2 separate regions of the Homo sapiens genome follow, and region 2 is linked to region 1. The links are contacts of gene promoters, found by promoter capture Hi-C in blood cells and fetal thymus (Javierre and others, 2016). All regions are on one chromosome and are shown on one strand. The core of a region is centred on a gene start or on the middle of the fragment in contact, and the rest is flanking DNA. Distances in the headings are between cores, read along the strand shown.

What was found. The method cuts DNA at HindIII sites, captures the fragments that hold promoters and counts their contacts. A CHiCAGO score of 5 or more calls a contact.
Region 2: a fragment that was not itself captured here is called in contact with the fragment with the promoter of FMOD in region 1 in 1 of 17 cell types (M1 macrophages); the score reaches 5.3 in M1 macrophages.

What each region holds. Positions count from the first base shown.
Region 1 is chr1:203,347,714-203,355,231 of GRCh38, forward strand. It overlaps FMOD (fibromodulin), which reads right to left and starts at 3,409. Exons shown (of 3, transcript NM_002023.5): 1 at 3,320-3,409; 2 at 1-564. The coding sequence starts at 557. It also overlaps the pseudogene LOC100131747. The HindIII fragment of the contact is 3,247 bases long and covers 3,041-6,287 here.
Region 2 is chr1:203,599,448-203,606,965 of GRCh38, forward strand. No RefSeq gene overlaps it. Among named protein-coding and RNA genes, the nearest start is that of ATP2B4, 24 kb to the right of the region's middle. RefSeq lists enhancers at 801-1,301, 1,302-1,802. The HindIII fragment of the contact is 2,154 bases long and covers 2,835-4,988 here.

The DNA.
Region 1 (7,518 bases), core at 2,159-4,658:
TTGTGGTCGAGATGGAGCTCTCTCAGGGATCGAGGCAGGGGACCGGGCATCCGGGTCAGGTTGTTGTGGTCCAGGTACAGCCTCTCCAGGTGCCTCAGCTTGGAGAAGACCTTCCTGCCCACCTTATCACTGGTGATCTGGTTGCCGTGGAGAGCAATCCAGAGCAGCCCTGTGGCATTGTCAAAGACGCCTTCCTGGATGGAGGTGATCTGGTTGTTCTGGAAGTACACATACTTCATGCGGGAGGGAACGAAGGGCAGGTACTTGAGGTTGCGATTGTCACAGTACATGGCCGTGGGGAAGTTGGGTGGGCAGTCGCACTCCTGGGGGCAGTCGCGGGGATCTGGAGGGGATGGAGAGCCGTAGGTGTAGGCTGGCCCTTCATCCACCCCATAGGGGTAAGGCTCGTAGGTCTCATACGGGTAAGGGTCATAGGGATCGTAGTAGGTGGACTGCTGGCTGCGGAGGTAGTGGAACCACCAATGAGGGTCATCTTCATACTGGGCCTGGGAGAGGGAGAAGAGCCCTGCCAGCAGCAGGAGGGAGGTCCACTGCATTTTGTCTCTGCAAGAAGCGGGAGAGAACAGAGCAAGCCAGCATGAGTGAGACTCCACAGAGGCAGTGAGGCAGAGTAGGCAAGCCTTAGGCTTTGAGCTATGCAGAGCTGACTTCCATGTCAAACATCTGAGAGCAGGAGCCTTGCTCTCATTTCTTCGGTGCCTCCTCCCAGTCTGGTTCTGCACTTGGTCCAGCCGGACCATGGCTATTTGGGGTGAGCTAAGTGCATTTTCCCCTGGTCATAGAGTCACAGACAGAATGTCTTTGAATGGGAACAGCTGCATTTTTTTTTTGGAGGGGCAGATTCTTAGGAGCCTCTAGCACTCTGAAAGTCCTGTGGGAAAGCTGAAAAGCCCACAGCAATCCCTGTGTTTGTGGTGTGGTGGTAAGGATGGTAGTGGGATGCTCTTCAGATCTGAACCCAAATCCAGTTTGGATGTTCCGGGGAAATAGTATTTTTCTAAGAGTCCAAGGAGAAAGCCCTAGGATGGGAGACCTCCAGAAGCCGCTTGACGCATCGAAGGGGAAGAGCTGAACTACATCTGGAAAATCTTTTGGTCTCTTGGGCAGGCTGGGAGTTTTTGGTCTTGAGTGTTTGGGGAGGAGTGTGGTCCCTCTGCAGCCACCACAAGGCTCAGGTTGCCCTCCAAAGTGCCATCATCTGTAACAGTCTGCTGAGTGAGGAAACTCACTGGTTAGCAGTTTGTGGCTACACATGCAACTTGGCTGGGACAGGGTCTTCATGCAGCAGTTACAAATCCTTTCCAGACTGAGGACCCTGGCACTGGGTGTGGCACTTGCCTTCTAAAGCAGGTACTCAGTGTGTGAAGTCTGAGTTAATCTGCTTCTCTCTTCCATGGTGCCTAGTAAGGTGTTAGCACTCCTCATGCTCCACCATGGGCATCATGCAAGAGCCATGTGGGGCCAAGAGAAATGAATGAGGGACACCAAAAGAATAGCTAGAGATTGGAAACTCTTGTGTATGCTCAAGGGAAAGCAGCTTGAGGTAGGACCCTGACATTCTCCTCTCCTTTCCCAAGCTACCTGCTCCCAGCGATGACACCTAGATGACCAGGCTCTGTGTCTAGGTCCCCACATTGCTGGAAACCTGTTGCTTTTGAACCTGTTGTGCTAATGAGATAGGAACAGGGCAGACTGAAGAGGAAATGTGGGTCTGATGTCATCTGAGAGGGAAACTAAAGGTATGGAAGGTAAGAGACTAGGGGTGGCCTGGGTACCCTACCCTGGTTACCTATAGCCAATGCATGACATACTCCTGTGAGCAGTGGGCATCTTCCTGAGTGTCACCCTTGGACAGAGAAACCTTAGAATCTTTCTTGGCCTGGAAGAGTCACATACAGCCCTCACATTGCTGTTGGGCCTACTGGGGTTGGCAACTGTAAACAGAAGAAAGAAAGGAGTATAAAAGCCAACATCATCAGATCCAGTGAACTGATGGGAAAGACCCCAACTATGACACTCAACAGAGTTACCTCCTGACCACCATCCATCCCAGACCTCTCTGTCCCCTCAAAACAGTTTCCTTGGGCCCACTTCATCCCATCAGTTCCTAGGTTGCAGAGGAGCAGGCACCCTGGCTCATCCACAGGCAGCCTCAGGCCTCAGACAAAGAGCCACAGTGTTTTGGAGAAGCTGACCCAACTGCCCACTGCCTGGGCAAGCTGGCTGGTTCCTGGCTCTGGCCAGGAGAGAAGACGAATGGAGCGGCCCACTGCCAACAGAGCATTTTTCCATGCACAGCCCTGGGCTGTTGCAGGACCAAGGTGGCTGTCTGGAGGGCTGGCACAGTGAGCCTCTGTCTCCGTTTCTCCTTCTTTCAGACTGGGCACCTTGGCAGACAAGAGCCACCTTCCCCTTCAGACTCAGCTTTCTAGGGGCTGTGCACCCTGCCCACTTCAGCCTCTTCTTAGAGCCATGGGTGCTGAAAGGGTTTGATGGGGAGCTTATGCCTCTCCTTACCCCATCCCATCTCTTAGCAATGTTGCTTCAGGGTTGCATAGTCTTACACTGTTTCCCATAATGCTAGAGGCCCTCCTGTGCTCAGAGTTTCTGTAAGGTCGAAAGTTTCCAGGACTGCCACACTATCAGCTGGGGGAAGTTTACTCAGGAGCTACTGCTGTTCTTTCATTTCTCCACTCTAGAGAAAGATCTCTCCCTCCTATCAGTGGAGAAGGTCAAGCCAGAGGCCATCCCCTCACCTGGATTGCATCCCCACCCCAATCCACAGCTCCCTGGACATGGCCAGTTCTCAATGCTTCTTTTTATTCTCTCCTTTCCACTCCAAACACACACACACACACACACACACACACATTCTACACAAAAGTTTCCCCCTCTCCCATAATAGCATTTATGTACCAAACCCCTCTATAAGAGAGATTGCAGGGACATCCAGGTCTTGGAATACCCTTCAAAATGCCCACACTCCCAGCATGATGGGATTTATGAGTAGCAGGGAAGAAGCTTCCCTAGACAGAGGGTCCTTCACTTTTTCATGCCTGAGAATTGGAGGTCCCCTCAGCACCCATAAAGGAACTGTAAGAGAAAGGTACAGGGCTGGAACCCCTCCCTTATACACCCTCTCTGCCACTCTCCAGCATCCCTGGGGTCATGGCCCAGATGTGGAGAAGGAGGAATGAACCCTCCCTGCCTCCCCATCTCCCCTATCCCCTACCACTTTTCCTTTATTTCTTTTAAGGAACTGCTAGGGACAAACCCGAAGTAAAACGACTATACTTACCTCAAGTTGAACTTTTCAGAGAGTGACCACGTCCCTCTGTCTGGCCTCCTTGGGTTGGAGAACGTGTGAGAGAGGAAGAGAGAGAGGAGTGAAAGAGTCTACTGAGAGTGTGCGTGCCTGTGCCAGACCAGGGTCCCGCCCCAAATTCCTAATCAAATATTGTGAAAAGGGGCTGAGGAACCCGGATCCTGGTTTTTTTCAGCTCTGCTGCAGGGGCGGAGTTCACGCTCAACCACGCAAATCCTTCGGTCCGCCTGACGCTATAAAAACCACCTTTTTTCCACTCACTTATCTTCCCTGAAACATTGGCAGCCCTGGGTCCCTTTCTGCTGAATGAGTTAGTGGCGCCCTAGAAGTTATTTGTACAGTCTCTTATGAAGCGCCTGGATTTCTCATTAAAGCCACAAAGGCAGATGCAGGGATGGGGAGGGCCAGGGTTTGGTAAGAGACATCTTAACTCCTTCAGCAACCCACATGTCCCTCCAGAGAGCGAGAACTCGCGCTTCTCAGCTCCCCCTATAGACAGGTCATCAGGCTAGTGGATAAGGGAGCATGAATGACAAGGGACAGCCGGCTCTGGTTCCAGTTCTATCCCTAAGCAGTGTAGACTTTTCTAGGCTACAGGTCCTGCCCACCTCCACCACTGGAACAAAAGGAAAGGCAGGGACTCCAGCATTTGCTGATCACTGCTTATGCACTAGCATCATCCACTTCCACTTAATGCTCACAACAAATTCAGAGTTAATAACACTTACCTTGCTGGGTTGTAGCAAGGACTGTATCAGGTGATGTGTGGGAGGCTCCTGACCTGGCACATAGCTGAGGTTCACTGTGTCCTACCCATTTCACAGCCATAGAATTCCTCAGCCAGGGAAAGACAAGATCAGAAAGCTGGGCAGGAGCTGTACCATGAAAGGACTTTTGGGCGATGGAAGTGATTTGGTTTTTATTCTAAATGTTTTTGTTGTTGTTGTTGTTGTTTGTTTGTTTGAGAAGGAGTCTCAGCTGGGCGTGGTGGCTCATGCCTGTAATCCCAGCACTTTGGGAGGCCGAGGCAGGAGGATCATGAGGTCAGGAGATCGAAAAGGAGTCTCGCTGTGTCGCCCAGGCTGGAGTGCAGTGGCACAATCTCTGCTTTCTGCAACCTCCGCCTCCCAGGTTCAAGCCGTTCTCCTGCCTCAGCCTCCTGGGTAGCTGGGACTACAGGCACACGCCACCACGCCCAGCTAATTTTTTGTATTTTTAGTAGAGACAGGGTTTCATCATATTGGTCAGGCTGGTCTTGAACTCCTAAACACAGGTGATCCACCCACCTCAGTGCCCCAAAGTGCTGGGATTACAGGCGTGCGTCATCCGGTCCGGCCTATTCTAAATGTTTAAAAAAAAAAACATGTTTCAAGCAGGAGAAGCCATGGGATCTGATTTGCATGGGATCTAATTTACATTTTAAAAGCATGTAGGAGGGGCTGCTGTATGGAGAAGGGGAGGCCAGGGTGGAAGCAGGGAGGCTCCAACCCAGCCTCAAGGAGAGGTAATGGCAGATTGGACTGGTGCAATGGAAGAGAAGATCTTATATTTTAGACAGAGAACTGACAAGTCTTGCAGAGTTAGGAAAAGTCAAGGATGATTCCTAGAATTTTAGTTTGAGCAACTGGGTAGGTGGTGGTAACATTTCTTGACATGGGAAAGGTGACGTGGGACTGAGTTGGGTAGAAAACCAAAGTTACATTTTGGATATGCTGTTAGAGATGCCTGCTAGGCATTCCCCTGGAGATGCACGTAGACCGTTGGACATATGAATCTGAATCTGGAGTTTAGGGGCTGGAAGAAAACATTTGAGAACCATTATAATGTGGGTCACACAGAATCTCAATAGCTTAGATAAACTCATGTGTCCTAAATGTTCTCTCCTCAAGTATGTTAACTGGCTTATGCCAACATCAAAGAAACACCTTTATCTTAAAAAAATACCAACTGAGAAACCCTGAGATGACTTGAATTTGAAGAATTTAGAAGTGTCGAGGCAGATGGTCCTTTTGGTTTCTCCAATAGGTTTGAGCTTTTGACTTAGCGTGTGGGCTGTCAGAAAGGGCCTTGTCAGGGACCCATTCTCAGAATTTAAGAAGAGATTTCAAAAAGATGAAACCTAATGAATGAGCCTTTTCTGACCACCTACTATAGACTAGGTGGTTTACTTATGTTATCAAAGATAACAGTAGATATTTTGCATTGGAATTAGTGTTTTTTTTTCAAAGCTACTTTTAATACTTTGGGGTGAGCCCCACAGGAATAAAAAAACACTGGGAAGGGGTAACCTCCCACCCGCCACTTCCAGGAGGGGCCAGGGGGAGAGAGGCTACGTGAGGGGAAGGAAGCACAAAAGGGACCCGCTGCAGACTCAGGGCAAAAGGAGGCCATGGGTGCGGGGACCTGCGGGCACTGCAGGAGGAAACGTGAGGGTGGTGGGACTGGCTCCAGTCACATAGGCGAAGGGCAGGAGGGTTGGACATGAAGCCACAAAGCTACTCGGGTTCCTCCTTCTTCTCTTTTGCCTTCTTCTGCTCCTGCTGCTTGGTCTCTGAGCTCCTCTGCTTGCCGCAGCAGCAGAAAGCCCGTCATCTCGACGTTTTCCCTTAACTGAGTCACTCTGCTTTTTCCTATTTTTCTAGCCAGTAAGCTCATGCTGGTTACTGCGGGTCATGGTGACAGCAGTGGCTCCGACCTGCCTCTGTTATGTCACCTCATTCTGTCAGGATTTTTTTTTTTTTATTTTTGACCCTGCTTTCAGCCAAGGAATTAGGGTTTTAGTGATATAAAGTGACTAGCTGGTAAGTGGCAAAACAAGGATCTGAACCTTGGTCTACATGACTTGAAAGCCCACACACTTTTCTCTAACTCTAGCACAGAGGATTGGCAAAGTGGAGGGGCAATGACTACCCTGCTGTCAGGCTGGCCTCGACTAAGATGAAGCTTAATTAATTACGATTGACCAATCTGCCTGAATCTGGGGGCAGGGGGGTTTTAAAGTGAGATGGGGCTGGGGTATAGGGGTTCTCTTCCTCATCCCACCCATATTTCATTTCCGTTTAATAAATTTGAGCATCTACTATGTGTTGGGCATGATCCTAAGTGTTGGAGACACAAAGAAGGCTTCGGTATAATGCCTGATTATAATAAAGCAGATCTGAATGTAGCAAACTCTGACCTCATGAGTGAAGCAGAATGGCCTTACTGTGAAAATGCTTATGAATAATGCACAGATAACTTTCTAGTCATTTTTGAGTCCAGAAAGCAGTCACCTTTCAGTGGAGGACACTGATCTTGGCAACCGAGCCTGGGAAACACTTTTAAATGAGCCTAGATAGCCTGGACAGATTCACCATTGGGTACAGATGTTTATTTTTTTAAATTCCAGCATGCTGACTAATTCTGCATTTACTAACAATGAAAGTTACTAAAGTCTGGGAACCAAATAGTGACTGGATTCTTCCCAACCGGGCACCACCAAAAAGACAGTATCTCCATGGGGTTTTTTGGCCATTTCTAAAGTGGTGAGATGTGCACCAGGTCTTTAGCTATCCATCCTGTTCCAAGGCAGGCCTGGGATGAAGGAAGGATGGAAGGGATGATTGGGACCAGGTCAGAAGGCAGAGTTTCAGGGAACCACCCACTGTTCAAAAGTTCTTTTCTCTAACCTTTAGTGGAGGTTTCTACCTCCATTTTGGCCACTGCTGCTTTGTTTGCCTGGTTCCTGGATCTAGGCCCTCAGAGCTTGCCTTCAACATGGGAAGCCAAGAATGAGATATTGATGTCCACCAGATTGCTTGCTGAGGGAGTCCACATGTGAAGGAGGACACCAGTATCTTCTAGGGGGTGTCTAGCCAGCACTATGCAGTCACTAGACTGAAAATAAACTAAAGAGAAAGGCAATGTCATGCATTTCTGTAGCCCCTGTCCCAGCTGGGCACACAATGCGTTGGCACTTAGTAGGCAATCAGTAAAGGGTTATGAAAGGAATTGTATTTTTGGCTCCCCACAGAGTATGTCTGTCTTCAGTACTCAATGCTGGGTGGAAAAACCACCACCAACCAGGCCAGGAAAACCTTTAGACTTTCCAGGGGTTCAGGCCACTGCTATTTCCTCCCTACCCAGAAAAGTACAGGTTAAGCCACAATCACTAGGCAAAGCTCATTGCCTCT
Region 2 (7,518 bases), core at 2,662-5,161, 250 kb after region 1:
CCAGGACTTTGGGAGGCCAAGGCAGGCAGATCTCTTGAGGCCAAGAGTTCAAGACCAGCCTGGCCAACATGGCAAAACCCATCTCCACTAAAAACACAAAAATCAGCCGGGCGTGGTGGCGGGCGCCTGTAATCCCAGCTACTTTGGAGGCTGAGGCAGGAGACTTGCTTGAACCCAGGAGGCGGAGGTTGCAGTGAGCTGAGATCATGCCACTGCACTCCAGCCTGGGCAACAGAGCGAGATTCTGTCTCAAAAACAAACAAAAAAAAAGTAGTTGCTGTGAAAGCAAACTTAGTTTCATATGATGGTGGCATAATTTTAGATTTTTAACCAAAATGTACCGAATTTCCCATATATCTCTAGGACAGTTCCCCAGTTCCTGCTTCTCCTCCCTGACGCTGGGGCTTCACCACCTCCTCCCCTCTTTCCAGGGCTCCCCCATGTCCCATCAGTCCAACCAGCTCCCAGTCCAACCAGCTCTGGATCCAGATCCCAAGAGAGGGTTCTTAGATCTCACACAAGAAAGAATCCGAGGCAAATACATACAGTAAAGTGAAAGCAAATTTATTACGAAAGTAAAGGGGCTGTTCTGCCTATGGAGTAGCCATTCCTTTGCTTTCTTAATAAACTTGCTTTCACTTAAAAAAAAAAAAAGTAAAGGAATAAAGAATGGCTACTTTATAGGCTGAGCAGCCCCGAGGGCTGCTAGTTGCCCATTTTTATGACTATTTCATTTGTAAACTGTCATGGGACTGGTGAGAGTGTAGCAGTGAGGATGACCAGAGGTCACTCTCTTCACCATCTTGTTTTGGTGGGTTTTAGCCAGCTTATTTACTGCAAACTGTTTTATCAGCAAGGTCTTTGTGACCTGTATCTTGTGCCAATCTCCTATCTCATCCTGTGACGTAGAATGCCTAACTATCTGGGAATGTAGCCCAGTAGGTCTCAGCCTTATTTTACCCAGCTCCTAGTCAAAATGGAGTCACTCTGGTTCAAATACCTCTGACACTAGGAGTCTGATTCAGTTCAGCTGGGTCTCACTTCCTGACCTGTTTCCACCTCAGTGCTCTAACCTGCCCATTGCCCCCTCAGCCTGAGGAAGCAGGTTTCTTTCAAGCACGTCTGAGGCTGCACTCTCACTATGCAGTACCACACTCCCACCCTCACTGAAAGGCAGGCCACCCCGCCCCCACAGCCCTGCCTCCATTACACAAAGATCCACCTCACCCCCACCAGAGGCCCCAGGCTAACTGGAAGGACCCTAGGCCGCATTATGGACTGTCTTGGGGACAGCTAGAGGCAGGCCTGCACCCAGATGAAGATGTGGGGAGGCAGAACAGAGTCTGGAGTCTGGAGAATTGGGCTGTCTCTTGGTTCCAATAGTGCTGTGGCAGATAAACAATTACCGAGGGCTTTCTGCAGGCCAGCCAGACAGGGGCCTAGCCTGGGACTACTACTGTTCCCCCTCTAGGCTGCCCCCACCAGCTAGCTCTCTGCACCACACGGAACCGGAACCCGAACACTGAGCCGCACTCCCATGTCCAGCCACATCTGCTTGCTCTCCATCTCACCTTCTTCTTCATCTCCCTTTCCCTAAAACTTTTCTGAGCCTCTTCTTGTTTTCTCCCCATTTCTTCAATTTCTTCCCTGCCCTCTCCTTCTTTATTTCTCTTTCTTTTCCCCTCCTCTCTTCCCCTCTCCTGTTCTCCTCCAGAGTTCTTCCCTCCCCTCCCCATCCATCCCCCAAGTCCACACCCCATCCCTCCTGCCACTATATTTAGCTCCCAGCCGGGGCTTTAGAAAGGCGCCACTGCTGGAGCTGGCGTCTAGTCTTGAAGGGTCTGTCAGCATTTCCATAAGAGGCTCAGCTGGGATGAGTTTATGACTGAGCTATTTTCTTTCCTTGCCTCACCGGCCCTGGGCTGAGCATAAGCAGAAAGGGGACCTCCAGGTACATTGGAGAGTTCTCCCCTGACATGGGCAAGCTCTTCCAAAGAAAAAGGAACTATGGGTTAAATCTTAGGTGAATCTGGGACCTAGGTAACTAGCAATTTGTGGGGCACAGCGAGTTAGGACTCTGCTATTGGTTAGGAACTCCCAGAGCCTGAGGGCAGAGCCTTCCTAGCCAGAGCGGGAGCAAATGTTTGCCCTCAGGATTCATCATATGACCTAAGCAACTTTGAAAGACTTCTTTCCCCAAAGTATTCACCAGCCTGCTATGGTCTCTGTAATCCCCACTGTTATAGCCATTTCTTTCTGTTAAACCAATGCCTCTAGAAGACCTCCTATAAAAATCATTTCCAATATTTGATGGACACATTACTAAGTGGTTTGAACACACCATTGCTTTTGATCCTCACAATTTAGCACTTTGATGAAACTTGCTGAGGACACTCAGTTCATTTTTATTTTTATTTTTTGAGACAGGATCTAGCTCTGTTGCCCAAGCTGGAGTGTAGTGACGCAATCTCTGCTCACTTCAGCCTAGACCTTCTGGGCTCAAGCGATCCTCCCACCTCAACCTCCCAAGTAGCTGGGACTACAGGCATGTGCCACCATGCCTGGCTAATTTTTGTACTTTTTGTGGAGATGGGGTTTTGGCATGTTGCCCAGGCTGGTCTCATGAACTCCTGGGCTCAAGCAATCCACCAGCCTCGGCCTGTAGTGCTTGGACTGCAGGTATGAGCCACCCCACCCGGCCAACACCCAGCTTAGTAGCAGTCAAGCCTAAGCTTGAATGCAGGTCTTGCACCTCCGACTGTTGTACTTTCTTCACCACACTGAATGAAACTGCCGCCCTGGGTAGACCAAGAATTTACAGCTACAAGGCCAGAAGCTTCAGCAGCAGGTTCAGAGACCTGGCTGGAATCCTGGCTCTACTACTTAAGTGTTATGTGGCCTTGGGCAGGTCACTTCACTACAGTGAGTCCCTCAGAGGACCGTTATGAGGACATAATGACCTAAATGCTCAACAGATAGGTGTTAATAAAGGGTAAATAGTATCACTTTCATGTTAACAGAGCCAGATCCCTGAAAGTGGGGGATGTGGGACAACCAAGTTCCATGGGACAGGATAGCAGGGATCTGGAGAGGTGTGGGCTGTGGCATGCGTGAGATGAGCAGCAGACCTGGCTAGCATGTGCAGGTGCAGGGGCATGGGGCAGCAAATGCCAACCACCATGTAGTCCCTTGAGTGGGATGATACATAAACACCATTCACATCTATCTGTTCATTTACTCCCAAAGGCTGAGGATGGCTGTAAGTGGGAGACAGAGCCAGCATTATTATCCCCATTTTACAGGTATGGAGACCAAGGTCCAGAAGAGGAAAGTAATCTGCCCAAGGTCACAGCTAATTATTTCATTCATTTGTTCACTCTCTCATTGAAGATATATATATATATATAGTCTACATATAGAGAGAGAGACTCCAGGCTGGAGTGCAGTGGTGTGATCTTGGCTTACTGCAACCTCTGCCTCCCAGGTTCAAGTGATTCTCCTGCCTCAGCCTCCCAAGTAGCTGGAATTACAGGCGCCCACCACCATGCCTGGCTAATTTTTGTATTTTTAGTAGAGATGGGGTTTCACCATGTTGGCCAGGCTGGTCTCAAACTCCTGACCTCAGGTGATCCGTCATCCTCGGCCTCCCAAAGTGCTGGGATTACAGGCGTGAGCCAGTCACTGCGCCTTGCCTTCTCATTGGATATATAGTGAGCATCTACTACATGCAGATGCTGTGTTATACACTGGACATACTCAGTGACAGAGCTAGAATCAGAACCCAGGACCGGGACACCTGTCCCATGAATTCTCCAGTATAAGACTGCCATGCAGCCTTAGGGCCAGAGTTACTGGTTCTACTGGTGACAAGTAGGGACTGACCATAGGTAGAGGACAAAGGTGCACCCTGTATGGATCATCTCTAACCCTTTGGCCTTACCCAACCCCCACCCCATACTAGCTTGGGAAAGCCACATTGCAATGTTTCCCTGAAAGGCGGGCAAAGAAGTTGCAGAGTAAAGAGACCTCGGGCGAGCATAGTTCTCGATCCCTTGGGTCCTTAGTCTTTCTAGAGCCCAACCACAAATGCCATATCTACCACCCCATGACAAGATGGCTGTTCCCCTCCAACAGGAGCAGCTGGAGGGTCCCCCAGGATCCAGAAATCCTGACTATTAGGTTAGAGCAGGGCTTCAGAGACTTCAAGTGAACTGGAGGACAGAGATACTCCATCCCATTCACCTTCCTGGGACAAAGGAAGTTACTTCCTGGCTTCTCTCTGAATGCTACACTAATTCTTCCTCCTGGGATAAGAACATCATTTATAGCATCAGATAATGTAGATGGGTTAAAGGGTGGGAGAAACAGAGGTAGAGTAACTTCAAGAGTTGTAAATAGGACCATGAGGTTGCCCAAGGAGATGTGCAATTTCCCTAAATCTCTCCCATCCATCCATGGCCCATCCACACACCCACTTGAATATCTACCCACCCACCCACCCATCCATCCACCCACCCACCCACCCATCCATCCACCCACCCACCCATCCATCCATCCACCCATCCATCCATCCATCCATCCATCCACCCACCCACCCATCCATCCATCCATCCACCCATCCACCCATCCATCCATTCATCCACCCATCCATCCATTCATCCACCCAACCATCCATTCATCCATCCACCCAGCCATCCATTCATCCACCCACCCAGCCATCCATTCAACCATCCACTCAATATAGTTTATTGGGCATCTATAAGGCAAATGCTAACATTAGTGTTTTCCTCTCTCTCCTGCTTCTTTTTCTTCACAAGATCCAAGGGTAAGAAGGCGGCAAATATCCAAGGGTAAGAAAGCAGGAAATATTTTTTCTAGAGATTATCTCTTCAACCAATCAGCCTCTACTAAAAACCAAGCTAATTCCCCAGATAAACCAGCTTCCCCCAGCTGCTGGTACCTGTGATGAACAATCTTTCCTGCCCAGAAGCTTTTATTGTGTTTAACTTGAAGCCCTCCAGCACCATCTATGCTGCATTTGCTGCTCTCACCTGAACACTTCTTCTCCCCTTTGCTGTTCTATTTTTCATTTGCTCCCTTATTCTCATGGCCTCCAGGAAAGAGCTTAGACCTGGAGTCAGAAAACTTCATTTTGAATTCTAGCTCTTTCAGTCACAGTTGAATGACCATAGCCAGTTTCTCCATCTGCAAAATGAGTATAATAATACCCAGTTGTTGTGAGGATCAAATGAGATAATGGATGGGAAGCAGTTTTGTAAACTGTAAATGGCCTTACTCATGTGAAGGTTTATCATTAATTCCCCCTGTTTCTCTGACACCAAAGAGAGACAAGCTGGGGAAGGCAACAGGACTCTAGGTCAGAGCTGAGAATGATGCATTTGAACCCTAACTCTGCCCTCTGGCTCTCCAGGAGACCGTGGGAAAGCCATGAAACCTCTGAGCCTCGGTTTCCTCACCAGGAAAGGAGTCATTAGATCCATGTGCTTCCACCAGCTGGGGAGAGGAGTTGCTTGTAAACAGTGATGGCTCACTCTCTATTTTAGAGATGCTTCTGAGCTCACCACCACCAATTACCATTTATTGAACACACAAGATGCTATATCCTGGGCTGGGTAACTAGAACTTCCAAAGGCCTAGGCCTTGACCAGGGATGGCAGACTACCTACCCTAGCCCTGTCGAGGAGCTGAGCAAGGCACCCTCTCACCACACGTGTTTCCCTGCCTTCTCTGCTCCTGCATAACTCAAGTAGAAGTGACAGGCCTTATCCCTGGTATAGGCCACCAACATATGGCAGGACCCTAAATAATCAGAAAAAGGAGGATTTCCTTGTCAAGTCTGAGACTACTCAGCTGCCAAGGACTGCTAATCTCTGCTTCTCATTGTCTCTCACAGCTGCACCTCCTTTCTGCTTCTGCTGTCCTCCTGGAGGATTCTCAAGCTGACGTTGTTGTGTAACCTACTAGTGGATCCCCACAGCTTCGGCATTGCTTCTCTCCCATTCCTTCCACCCACTGCTGTCATATTAATCTTCCCAAAATGCTGCTTTGGCCTCTCAGTTTCCTCTTGGACACCTTCAATGATGCTTTGTTGTCTAGAAGACAAAACAACATTTTGAAATCAAGCTGACCTGGTGCCAATCCTGGCCCTGCCACTGATGGGCAGGTTACTCCAACCTCTCTGAGCAACCAGTTTCTCAACTGCAAAATGAGGCCAATAGTACTGCTATCATGTTACTGTGATTAAACCTTAAGATACAGTTATATGCCACATAATGACATTTTGGTCACCAACACACTGCATATACGATTGTGGTCCCATAAAAACTATAATATCAGTCAGGAGTTCGAGACCAGCCTGGCCAACATGGCGAAACCCCATCTCTACTAAAAATACAAAAATTAGTTGGGCGTGGTGGCAGACACCTGTAATCCCAGCTACTCGGGAGGCTGAGGCAGGAGAATTTCTTCAACCTGGAAGGTGAAGGTTGCAATGAGCCTAGATCACGCCACTGCACTCCAGCCTGGGTGACAACAGTGAGACTTCATCTCAAAAAATAAATAAATAAATAAATAAATAAATAAATAAATTATAATACCATATTTTCATGGTACCTTGTCTATGTTTAGATATGTTTAGACACCAGTGTGTTATAATTGCCTATAGTACAATAACATGCTGTACAGGTTTATAGCCTAGGAGCAATAGGCTATACCATCCAGCTTAGGTGTGTAGTAGGCTACACCATCTAGGTTTGTGTGGGTATACCTATGATGTTTGCAAAACAATGAAATCACCTAACAATGCATTTCTCAGACTGTAGCTCTGTTTGTTAAGTGACTCAGGACTGTTTATGTAAGGCACGGTGCCTAGCTTGTAGAAATTACTCAGTATACGTTAGCTCTTTCCCTTTTCCTCTCCTCTTTTCTTTGGTATTACTTCCCTCCATGGTCTCCACAAGCAAGGGGCACGGTGTGAGCCTAATTGTACATCTACCCTGGGAATTCTGGAACCCTGATGCTGACAACCAATACATCACATTTACAAGGGCCAGGAGGGCACTGAGAAAAAGGTAAAGGCCTTTGGGATTGAGCATCAGGCTGCTGAAACATCAGGCTTGAGGCTTCAAGCAAAAAGGGAAGATGAAGGCTGCCCCCTGTACTGTGAGTGTGGCGAGGCCTGGGAAGGCAGAAAACACACCCTGAGATAAGAACACTGGTTCTTGATCTATAAGAAAGACATTGTGGGCCGGGCGCGGTGGCTCGTGCCTGTAATCCCAGCACTTTGGGAGGTCGAGGTGGGCGGATCACAAGGTCAGGAGATCAAGACCAGCCTGACCAATATGGAGAAACCCCGTCTCTACTAAAAATACAAAAATTAGCCTGGTGTGGTGGCATGTGCCTATAATCCCAGCTACTCGGGAGGCTGAGGCAGGAGAATCGCTTGAACCAGGGAGTCGGAGGTTGCAGTGAGCCGAGATCGCGCCACTGCACTCCAGC